Linked DNA regions of Homo sapiens: all the other regions are linked to region 1. Evidence: promoter capture Hi-C in human tissues and cell types (Jung and others, 2019). All regions are on one chromosome and are shown on one strand. Each heading gives the region's core, a stretch centred on a gene start or on the middle of the fragment in contact. The rest is flanking DNA. Distances are from core to core; before and after follow the strand shown. Region 1 holds the start of SLC7A14 (solute carrier family 7 member 14). Region 2 overlaps SLC7A14-AS1 (SLC7A14 antisense RNA 1). Region 3 overlaps SLC7A14 (solute carrier family 7 member 14).

Evidence for each region. The method cuts DNA at HindIII sites, captures the fragments that hold promoters and counts their contacts. A contact is called where the count stands out against the background at its distance.
Region 2: a contact is called between a fragment that was not itself captured here and the fragment with the promoter of SLC7A14 in region 1, in 2 of the 25 tissues and cell types used here (mesenchymal stem cells and pancreas).
Region 3: a fragment that was not itself captured here is called in contact with the fragment with the promoter of SLC7A14 in region 1 in 2 of the 25 tissues and cell types used here (aorta and mesenchymal stem cells).

Annotation. Positions count from the first base shown.
Region 1 is chr3:170,584,452-170,587,984 of GRCh38, reverse strand. SLC7A14 (solute carrier family 7 member 14) reads left to right here and starts at 1,910. Exons shown (of 8, transcript NM_020949.3): 1 at 1,910-2,074. The region is part of intron 2 of SLC7A14-AS1 (SLC7A14 antisense RNA 1); the gene reads right to left. RefSeq lists a silencer at 3,131-3,425. The HindIII fragment of the contact is 10,108 bases long and covers 990-3,533 here.
Region 2 is chr3:170,676,907-170,680,439 of GRCh38, reverse strand. All of the region lies in intron 2 of SLC7A14-AS1 (SLC7A14 antisense RNA 1), which reads right to left. Among named protein-coding and RNA genes, the nearest start is that of SLC7A14, 93 kb to the right of the region's middle. RefSeq lists an enhancer at 2,062-2,563. The HindIII fragment of the contact is 4,059 bases long and covers 1-3,533 here.
Region 3 is chr3:170,506,900-170,510,432 of GRCh38, reverse strand. The region is part of intron 2 of SLC7A14 (solute carrier family 7 member 14); the gene reads left to right. All of the region lies in intron 2 of SLC7A14-AS1 (SLC7A14 antisense RNA 1), which reads right to left. Among named protein-coding and RNA genes, the nearest start is that of SLC7A14-AS1, 41 kb to the right of the region's middle. The HindIII fragment of the contact is 8,214 bases long and covers 1-3,533 here.

The DNA.
Region 1 (3,533 bases), core at 661-3,160:
ATTGTGGCTGGTGTTCCAGAAATAAAAGGCCAGGGAAATATGGAGATTTAAATCAGAAATTTATCCAGAAAAAGGTGAAACAAAGAATGCAGTTCTCCAATAATCACATCCCCTGAGCTACAGGCATACATGCAGACTTAGAGCAACACACCAACATTTTAGTAGCTGCATATTCCATGACAAATCCCATCTTCCCATCTTATCACCCTCATAATTCATTTGGACTAGAATAGACTCAGGGTTTTCTTCAGCCCATAGTATTCATACTCTTTACCTTTTACAGTGACTTCTCATGTGCTATCCCATCTAAACATCACAACCATCTTATATAGAAGGCAGGTAGACATTCCTTTCCCATTCTGAAGATGAGAGTCTGACAATTTAAGTGATTTGTGAAAAATCATATGATAAGTAGCTGGCAGAACCTGCACTGAGATTCCAAATTTCTGATTTTTTAACTTTGCACTTTTCCTACAATGTCTCACAGCTTCTTGGTGATCCCAGGAGGTCTAACATATCCTGCAGAACTACTCAAAGCTTAAAATATGGGGATATTGTCAGGCTTAGATGCTCATCGAAGGCAGTAACAAGCTTGAGGTAGGTGGACTAACCAAGACTGTCCTGGCAATGATCAAGCAACTTTCTGGGAAGAGCCCAGGGCAGACCCACAAAGTAGAGCTAGATTTGAACTGCTCCACCCTAGAGGAGTATCAGTCAGCCAGTATTCTCCCCAAACACAAGCCCAGTGAATTCATTTCCAAGGATAGGAGAGTTACATTTTGTTGCCTCCCATGTGTTTTGAGGGCTTGGGCCAAAGTGCAAGAATTTATGTAGATAACTTTCATCCAAATCAGTCTACTCAATGCTTGTTAAATAATTCATTCGGTGATGTGGCCAAGCATGCCTGGGTTGGTCCCATCTAGTCCCAATCCTTTTGGGACATAACCTGGCTCTAGGACACTCATCTTAAAGGAGCTAATACAAAACAGAAACCTTATCTCACTCTTGTCTCCGTTTAGACTGGTACTTGTCTAGCCTGACCTCACAGATGCCTCCTTCCATGTTTAAAAGATGCTTTCACTGTATTAGCACACATCACATCCTTCTTGCCTTGTGAAATTTATTTTAACAAAGGTGGGGGAAAAAGAACTCTCCTTTATTGAGCTCCAAATACCTGTCCAACTCTAGGCTAGGCAATTCTAAGAACATGATGATTTCTCAATCTCATGACAATACTGCAAGGTGGTTATTTCACAGACGAGAGAAGAAAAGCTAGAAAGTTAAATGCTCCAAGGTCATACAGATTGGAATCCTAATGGCTCTTCAAATCTCAAGTCCATGATCTTTGCACCCATAAGATGTTGTGAACCCAACGATAAACTTAAGCTTTGAAGACAGAGGTGGGTCTTGTCTTCTTTAGGAGGAGAGGAGAAATCAACCTCTCTCATTTTTTCTTTCCTGTAGGGCTCAGGGATGTGGAAGTTTAAGAGCAACGAAGGCTCCGCAGAGGATGAGGGAAGCTTCCAGAGGGCAGGAAGGAGGTCTGGACAGCCCAGTCTAGCAGGGGCAGAGCTGCGGCAGATGCCTTCCCAACGCACAGACATTGCAGAGTCCTGCTGGTCCCTGCTTTCCCAGGGCAAAGAACTGCCCCCATCCACGGCCCCCTCAACCTCCCTGCAGCCTGACATAAGACACTGGAGGTCACAACTGGAGGCTCAGAAGGCCAGCGAGGAGTTGTGAGCGGCAGACAGAGGGGAAGGCAGGGGGGCCAGGTGGGAGGTGGTCTGGTGCCAGGCTTGGGCCCAGTATGTAAGGGGTTGGGCAGGCCATGTGACTCCAAGGAGGCGGAGACAGGCGAGCTGGAGGGAGGACGAGCAGGCACGGGGAGGGGTTCGGGGGGTGGGGGCCCAATCTGAATAATTGAGGAGCTGTTCAGCAGCAGCGGCTGCCTCCTGCCTTCCTTTGCCGCCACCACCACTTCCCATCCCAGCTAGAGAGACAGCTCCGCGCAGTAAGTGCGGACTGCCAGCCACCAGCCTTGGCAGCCAGCTCGTCGCCTCCAGCCCCGACCCCGGTAAGTGAACGGCCCCCTTCGCTGCCGTTTGTCCCCCTCCGCGCCCCCCGCGCCCCAGCGGGACCCCTGCAACTGGGATGGCCGCCTCTCCCGGAATGACCCAGGGAGCCGGAGTCACCGGGAGCGGGGGACCAGGAATATGGCGCGGAGGCCCAGGGCGCCCTCCGAGAAGGGGTTCCCTGGAAGAACCGAGGAGGTGGGTCGGGCTCTTTCCTGCTCTGGCCCGGAATGAGGCCCCGACTGCCCGCGGTCTGGGGGCACCGGGCTCTGACTCGCGGGAGCTGCCGGGCGGGGCGGGGGCCAGCGCGGCTCCGGCGCCGCTAGAGCGGGAGGCAGAAGGGGAGCCGCGAGCGGAATGCGGGCAGCCTAGGTCTCGGCAGACGCCGGGCCCGTCCTGTCCCCCGCCTTGGCGCGCACCCCGCACGGGCAGCTCCGTTCTCCGCCTCGGACCGAGACCATGAAACGGAGACGCTTTTCCGGCCGCAGACTCCGGGGAGGTCGGGAGCAACGTCTGCCCTTTTACCTGGGAGCAAACTCCTCAAAGGGACTCCCGCCGAGCCCAGCACCCCGACCAGGATGGTGGCGCCCCGAGGGGCGTCTGTCCCCGGAGAGTGGTGACTCTCCCGGGAGCGGCGAAGAGGACGTGACGGGAGCGGTGTCCAGGGAAGCTCCCTGCCCAGAGCCGGCAGCCCCAGCAAGGGGAGCTCTCCTGCACTGCTTCAACCCTCAGTCTCCTCTCTTCTCCCATTCCAAAGCACATCAGCTCCCCTCTAATCCAAGAGGGCCAGGTTAGGGCTGCGTGGCCACGCGGGATGCAGCCCCCACCCTCCTTCTCTCTCCTGTGTCACCCTGCCCCCTCCCCAAATGAGTATTTTATATTGCGATTGAAGAGTGAGCAAAGCAAAGGCGAGAAGAGATGCAGGAAGGCTAGAGCAGCGGGGCTCGCTCCTGTTCTGGCACTCCTCATCCCCCCACCTGTGTGAAGCTCGTTTCCTTGAGATTTTGAGCGGAGACACTCAAAGGAACTGGCTCTGGCGAAGGGATCCCCGCCTGAGTGTCGGTGAACGTCACTGGCCCGAATTGCCCAAGGGCCGCAGGATGTCACCCTGCCTCCCCCTAGGTATAGGGTCTAGGAGAGCGCTGGGGGCAAGGTAGCTCTCCTCCTCCGACTGAGTGCAGGGAATGGCGCTGTCCGCGGTGCTGAAAGTTCTCAGAGGCTGGGTGCTAATACCGCCAGGGCCCACATTCCCTGCGAGCAGAAACTGCGTTAGAACCCTAAAGGGTTCTAAGCAAGCGACCTAGAGAAACAGGAGAAGAAGGGGCTTTGCCTTTCCCGGTTTTCTGCTTCCCCAGGACTCCGCTTGGGAAAAGGTTCCCGGCTTTCCTGAGTGGAAGAGCAGGAAGCGGGTGTCACTTCAGGATCCAGTTTTGCTAACTTCGGGAGCTTCCTCGTTCTACT
Region 2 (3,533 bases), core at 541-3,040, 93 kb before region 1:
AAAACATAACTGTGCTTACCCCATAACACAACAGTTCCACATACTGGGATTTAGCCCACAGATACATGCATACCTACAAGAAGTGCACGTGTATCATATCCATTTTAGCAGTGTTGAAATAGCAAATCTTGGAAGTCTACTATGAATGAGTGCCAATAATAGACTGGTTAAATCACTTTATGGCACATCCATCAATAGAATATTGTGCAGCCATTAAAAATGAGGCCGCTTTTTCTGATGTAGAAAGATCTTTAAGGTATGTTAAATGAAAAAAGAAGATATGGAACAGTGTGAATGTTTGTATAAAGAGTAAGCATTTATGAATTTACATGTATTTTTATATTCACATATATTATATATTTATAGGCTATCTTCAGAAGGATGCATAAGAACCTAGTAAGATAGCCTGCCTCCTGTGAGGGAAGCTGAGTGACTTTGGTGACTAGAGGGAAAGAAACTTTTCACTTTGTACCTTTTGAATTTTGTACCATGTCCAGGTACTATTTAGGAAAACAATTGTTTTTAACAATTTAAAAGAGGTCTATAATCCTCTGCTGAGGCCCAAGGAGGTAAACCACAAGCCCAAGGTCACAAAAGGTGGGAAGAAACGAAACCAGGGATTAGCACTGGATTCGTCTGATTCCCACATCCACACACTTTCCTCAGCACCACGCTGCTGTTCGTCCAATTCTCCTCTGCATCACAGCTAATGATGAGATCCTAAGGCTGAAATAGAGCTCTCACCATCTAAAGGGGCCCATTTCCCACCTTCAGCAGGAATATTTTGAACTTAACCTGAAAGAGACCTGCCTCTTACTAAAAGAAATCCAGGAAGGAGATTACCTTAGTTTTCCTGTTTCAGTATCTTACGAATAATTTTATTTAGCAAAGCTTCTTTTCAACATTTGGTAGCAAACCAAGCTCCTGAATAATTTACAAAATAAAAATTTCATAAACCTATACTGTGGCTTCAAGTTAGCACCTTGAAATACTGATTCATTCATTTCAAGAGCGTTTATTGGGCTTGGAGGCCTGTTGGGAGATGAGTTGAGCATGCAGGAATCTACGATATGAGGAAGAATGTGATGCCAACTATAAGCAAGACAGGCAGGAGGCTCCTTCAGAGCCCAGGTCACATGCCACAGGTCCATAGGGCCCAGCCAGTGCCATGAGTGAGCAGCAGGGCCCCTGGGGGCATGGAAAGCTCAAGCCCTGTCTCAAGGGGCAACCACTGCTCCCCTCTCCTCTATCAATGCCTTATGGGAATGAGGGATCCATGTTGTTTATCTTCCTATTTCATGTGGAATCTCTTAACTTTTATGTAGTGGCTTATAAATTTTAAAAGCCACCAGGCATCTCAGATAAAATGTGTCTGTGGGTAAGTTTGAAAGTCTTGCTGTAGTGTTTTCATGCACTTCCTAGAATTCCCCCATGGACAAAGAGGCAGTTCAATGTTTGGGCCAAAATCAAAAGCCCTTTTCTCAGTCTGGGTGTAGAGAAAACTCCCAGTGTGGTAGCCTTGTTCTCTTGGCCCTGATTTCCCCTTACCCTGTCACCATTTCCTTAGACTGTCCTTGCAGACAAATCTTCAACTCTGAATTTCCAGAGCAAATTTTCCCAAAGGGTTTTCTGCAGCCCACCTCTCACAGACATGTCTTATCTTTAAGAGCTGCTCATGGGGTAACTATTCCTGTAATAATGGTGATGTCCTGGATGTGATACATTGCTGTCTTACCAACTGCTCACACCTAGTGAAAAAACAGTAGTGAAAGCCATCTTTGTCCCCAGGTATCTTCATTATTGACTTTAATTCAGGGCTTTCCTCGCTTAGAATTGCCATGGCATTGGAAGGGTCAGGAGAAGGGACTAAGCTCTAGAATTTTGAGAATTTTCTAAAGAGAACTTGAATATGGGGGCAGACTAGTCTTCTAGCCAAGAAACTTGGGTTTCAGCCCTTGTTCTGCTGCTGTGTGACCCTGGGCAAGTCATTGTTGCCAGTTAAATATCCATTTGCTCCTCGATACAATGCAGACTCTGATGAGAATATCCCTAATGTCCCTTCTGGCCCTTGTTGTCGAGTTTCCCTGATCCTGATCTGAGTGGACTTAGTGGACATAGAGAAAGCTACTCTCAGTAAGAACTTGGTGGATTGACACATGGCTGATTTAAATAATAACTGTCAGGGCTCTGAGCCCAAGCTAAGCCATCATATCCTCTGTGACCTGCACGTATACATCCAGATGGCCGGTTCCTGCCTTAACTGATGACATTCCACCACAAAAGAAGTGAAAATGGCCTGTTCCTGCGTTAACTGATGACATTGTCTTGTGAAATTCCTTCTCCTGGCTCATCCTGGCTCAAAAGCTCCCCTACTGAACACCTTGTGACCCCCCACTCCTGCCCACCAGAGAACAACTCCCTTTGACTGTAATTTTCCTTTACCTACCCAAATCTTATAAAACGGCCCCACCCCTGTCTCCTTTCACTGACTCTCTTTTTGGACTCAGCCCGCCTGCACCCAGGTGAAATAAACAGCCATGTTGCTCACACAAAGCCTGTTTGGTGGTCTCTTCACACGGACACGCATGAAATTTGGTGCTGTGACTCAGATCAGGGGACCTCCTTTGGGAGATCAATCCTCTGTCCTCTTGCTCTTTGCTCTGTGTAAAAGATCCACCTACGACCTCAGGTCCTCAGACCCACCAGCCCAAGGAACATCTCACCAATTTTAAATCGGGTAAGCGGCCTCTTCTTACTCTCTTCTCCAACCTCTCTCACTAACCGTCAGCCACTTTCTCCTTTCCACTCTTCTGTCTCTCCCTTCTCTTAATTTCAATTCCTTTCATTTTCTGGTAGAGACAAAGGAGACACATTTTATCTGCGAACCCAAAACTCCGGCGCCGGTCATGGGCTGGGAAGGCAGCCTTCCCTTGGTGTTTAATCATTGCAGGGATGCCTCTCTGATTATTCACCCATGTTTCAGAGGTGTCAGACCATGCAGGGATGCCTGCCTTGGTCCTTCACCCTTAGCGGCAAGTCCCATTTTTTGGGGGGAGAGGCAAGTACCCCAACCCCTTCTCTCCATGTCTCTACCCCTTCTCCACCTTTCTGGGGGGCAAGAAACCCCCAACCCCTTCTCCTTCACCCTTAGTGGCAAGTCCTGCTTTTCTGGGGGAGGGGCAAGTACCCCAACCTCGTATCTCTGCACCCCATCCCTTATTTCCATGCCCTGACCTCTTATATGTCTGCACCCTGATCCCTTATTTCCATGCCCCAACCTCTTATATCTCTGTGCCCTGATCCCTTATTTCCATGCCCCGACCTCATATCTCTGTGCCCCAACCCCTTTCCCGCTTTTCTGGAGGGTAAGAACCCCCGAACCCCTTCCCTCCGTGTCTCTACTCTTACTTTTCTTTAAACTTGCCTCCTTCACTATAGGCAACCTTCCATCCTCCATTCCTCCTTCTTCTCCCTTAGCCTGTGTTCTTAAGAACATAAAACCTCTTCAACTCTCACCGGACCTAAAACCTAAA
Region 3 (3,533 bases), core at 628-3,127, 78 kb after region 1:
TTACATTCTTTATTTATTTATTTATTTATTTATTTTTTTTTTTTTGACAGAGTCTTGCTCTGTCACTGAGGCTGGAGTGCAGTGGCACAATCTTGGCTCACTGCAACCTCCGCCTCCTAGGTTCAAGCAATTCTGCTGTCTCAGCCTCCCGAACAGCTGGAATTACAGGTGCCCTCCAACACGCCCAGCTAATTTTTGTATTTTTAGTAGAGACAGGGTTTCACCACGTTGGCCAGGCTGATCTCGAACTCCTGACCTCAGGTGATCTGCCTGCCTCAGCCTCCCAAAGTGCTGGGATTACAGGCGTGAGTCACCACACCTTGCAGATTGGTTACATTTTTTTTTTTTTTTTTTTTTGAGACAGAGTTTTGCTCTTGTCCAGGCTGGAGAGCAGTGGCGCGATCTTGGCTCACTGCATCCTCTGCCTCCAGGGTTCAAGTGATTCTCCTGCCTTAGCCTCCTGAGTAGCTGGAATTACAGGCATGCATCACCACGCCCAGCTAATTTTGTATTTTTAATAGAGACAGGGTTTTGCCATGTTGGTCAGGCTGGTCTCGAACTCCCGACCTCAGGTGATCCACCCACCTCGGCCTCCCAAAGTGCTGGGATTACGGGCATGCACCACCACGCCCGGCTAATTTTGTATTTTTCGTAGAGACAAGGTTTCTCCATGTTGGTCAGGCTGGTCTCGAACTCCTGACATCAGGTGATCCACCCACCTTGGCCTCCCAAAGTGCTGGGATTACAACCATGCACCACCACACCAGGCTAATTTTTGTATTTTTAGTAGAGACGGGGTTTTGCCATGTTGGTCAGGCTGGTCTCGAACTCCTGACCTCAGGTGATCTGCCTGCCTCGGCCTCCCAAAGTGCTGGGATTACAGGTGTGAGCCACCGTGCCCGGCCAGTTGGTTACATTTAATCAACAAATTATTAAACTTCCTTGACCTGTTTTGGGGGGTGACTTCTCTGACTCAAAGGACAACTTATTTCCTACCTGTTTATATGTTGATATATTTGGGGCAGTGGTTTGGCAGACTTGGGAGTTCTCTATTCCCTACCCAACTTTAATTGGAGCCCTGTCAGGTTCAATAACATGATGTCATACACCCCTGATTAATGATGCTGCCTGTCCCCTAAACACAGGTGGTTACTGTCCACCTGGCGCCTGCTTGGGCAGAGAAATCATAAGTCTCTTCTTAGACACAAAGAAACATAGGCATTCCCAGACAAATTGCTTTTCCTTCAGACACCTTTGTAAAAATTGCCTGGGCTTCCCTGACAGGTGATGGAGTGACCGAGGTTGCTCAAGTAGAAGAGACAGTAGCAGTGAGGCTGAAGGGACAGAGCACCTGACCAATCACTCCCTGAAAAACCCACAGTTTTCGTGGCTAACCAAGGGCATCGGGAAGAGGACATCAGTGCAGGTTCACTGGGTCCAGCCGCATATGACAGGGCCTGGATAGATGTTTCTCAGGACCCAGCAACCTGCTTCTCAAGACAGCAATAATGGGGACACTGCATTACCCACCATATGGAGCTCAGTGTCACAGAGAAAACAAATGTTTCTGAGAGAATTCACACTTCATTTCTCTCTGAGGTCCTGTGATTTCTCTTCATACCCCACTCCCCATCTACATTTAGGCAGGACTAGCAACAATAGCTACATATACAGCATGCCTTAGCCCCGCTGCGGCTGCATAAACGGAACAGAGATGTTTTAAGAAAAGTAAGGAAATCAGAAGAAAATAAGTAACAACTCAGCAAAATGCTGTATTTGGTGAGGACTTTCTTACAGACATGTTTGGGCCTAAGTAGTGAATTTCACCAGCGTAACCCAACGGCTGATTCCATCCTGTGTCTGGGAGATGGCAGATAGTTGGCACTTGGGAAGAATTGACTTCATGGATGAGAAATCACTGACCTCATCCATTTGCTAGATCAGCCCACCCCAACCTTCCTGCCTACCCAGTGTGAAGTATAAGACACAGTATGCGCAAAATACCTAATAGGGCCTGATATCAGCAACCTATGGCCCACTCAAGGCAGCCTGACCGAACCTCTGAGCAACGCTCCAGTTGTTGCTGATCCCAGAGGCCTGCATGAAACTGTAAAGTTGGCAAATTGTTTTCTTGGACACCTGCCTCCACTCCCTCTCATAATTCTTGATAGCCTCTTTCCTTTTGGACAGTCTTTCTGGTTGGTTGGTTTTCTGGTCTGTTTCCTCCATGATACTATAAGGCCCACAAAAAAGAGACTGTATTCTTCCTGTTCACCTTTGAATCCTTAAAAGCTGATATAGATACATAGAGATGATCCCTTACCAGTGCATGGGATAAATGAATGAGTGAATTAGAAAGCTGCTAAGGCTGGATATCAGGAGACCTCAGGTCTAGCCCAAACTCTGCCATTAATTGAATACGCAGCTTCAGATCTGGAGCTCAGTTGCATCATCTATAAAATAAAAGAACAACTCTGATGAGCAACTGACACCTCTTCCCATTCCCATGCTCAGTACAGCCCTGGGGGTCCACAGAGGAGGGTGAGGGGCTTTGGGGAAGTATGGGATGAAGGAGACCTTGAGCAGACCAGCCTCGGTTCTCCCACCCTTCAAACGGAGCCACCTGCTTTTACCTATTTATGTATTGGGCTCTCAAATAAGACTGTGTGTGGAAAATAGAGTTCTACAACTAAGAGAGAGCTTTAAACTATACAAGTAGATGAACTGTACAGTCCTTTTCAGCTAGTCCACTCGTCTGTTAAAAAGGTCCCACCCCCTCAATCACTTGATCTCAGTCCACCTCTGCAGGCTCATCTTCCACAATCTCGAAAGTAGCCTGCATGTGTCTGCCCAGCTACACCTTTTCGCCTGCCTGAAACCACCCTTTCCTCTATTTTTTTTCTGACTGGCAAAGCCCAGCTTACCCTCCAAGAAGTAGCTTAAAAGGCTCCCTCCCCCAGTCTCCGGGCTTCCACAGCAACCAAAGAACCGTGCTCCTAAGAACCACGCTCACCGCACTGAGCTCCAAGAACACCTCATAAATGCTCAATAGTATTAAATACTGGCCACATGGAATCAGCTGTTTATTAAACTCTTTCCTGATTGAAATATAGATGCTTCAAGGTCAGGAAATCTGTCTTACCATTTGTGTCTCTGTCATTCATTGCACTTCCTCATTTCATAGCCACTTAATGTGTGTGGAATAAAGGAAGGAAATTAGAAAGTCAAAAATTATTTGGGAAACTGTTAAATGAGCTGATAAGTAGGTTAGGGAATAGTCAAAGTAAGATAAGTTACATATTAATGGGAAAATCTGTCTATCTGGGTAGAGTAATTGGCATTCAAGTGTGAATAACCCCTAGATTTAATCCTTCCAGGTGAAAGTACACTTATTTAAAAGTACTTATTTATCTAATGGCTTTCTTTGGTGGAATGCAGAGGGAAATTTATGTCTTAAGTGGAGAAGCCTTTCTCCACTTATGATCAGGCAACATAATAATTGAATTCATCATATTATATAAACTGTACCCCCA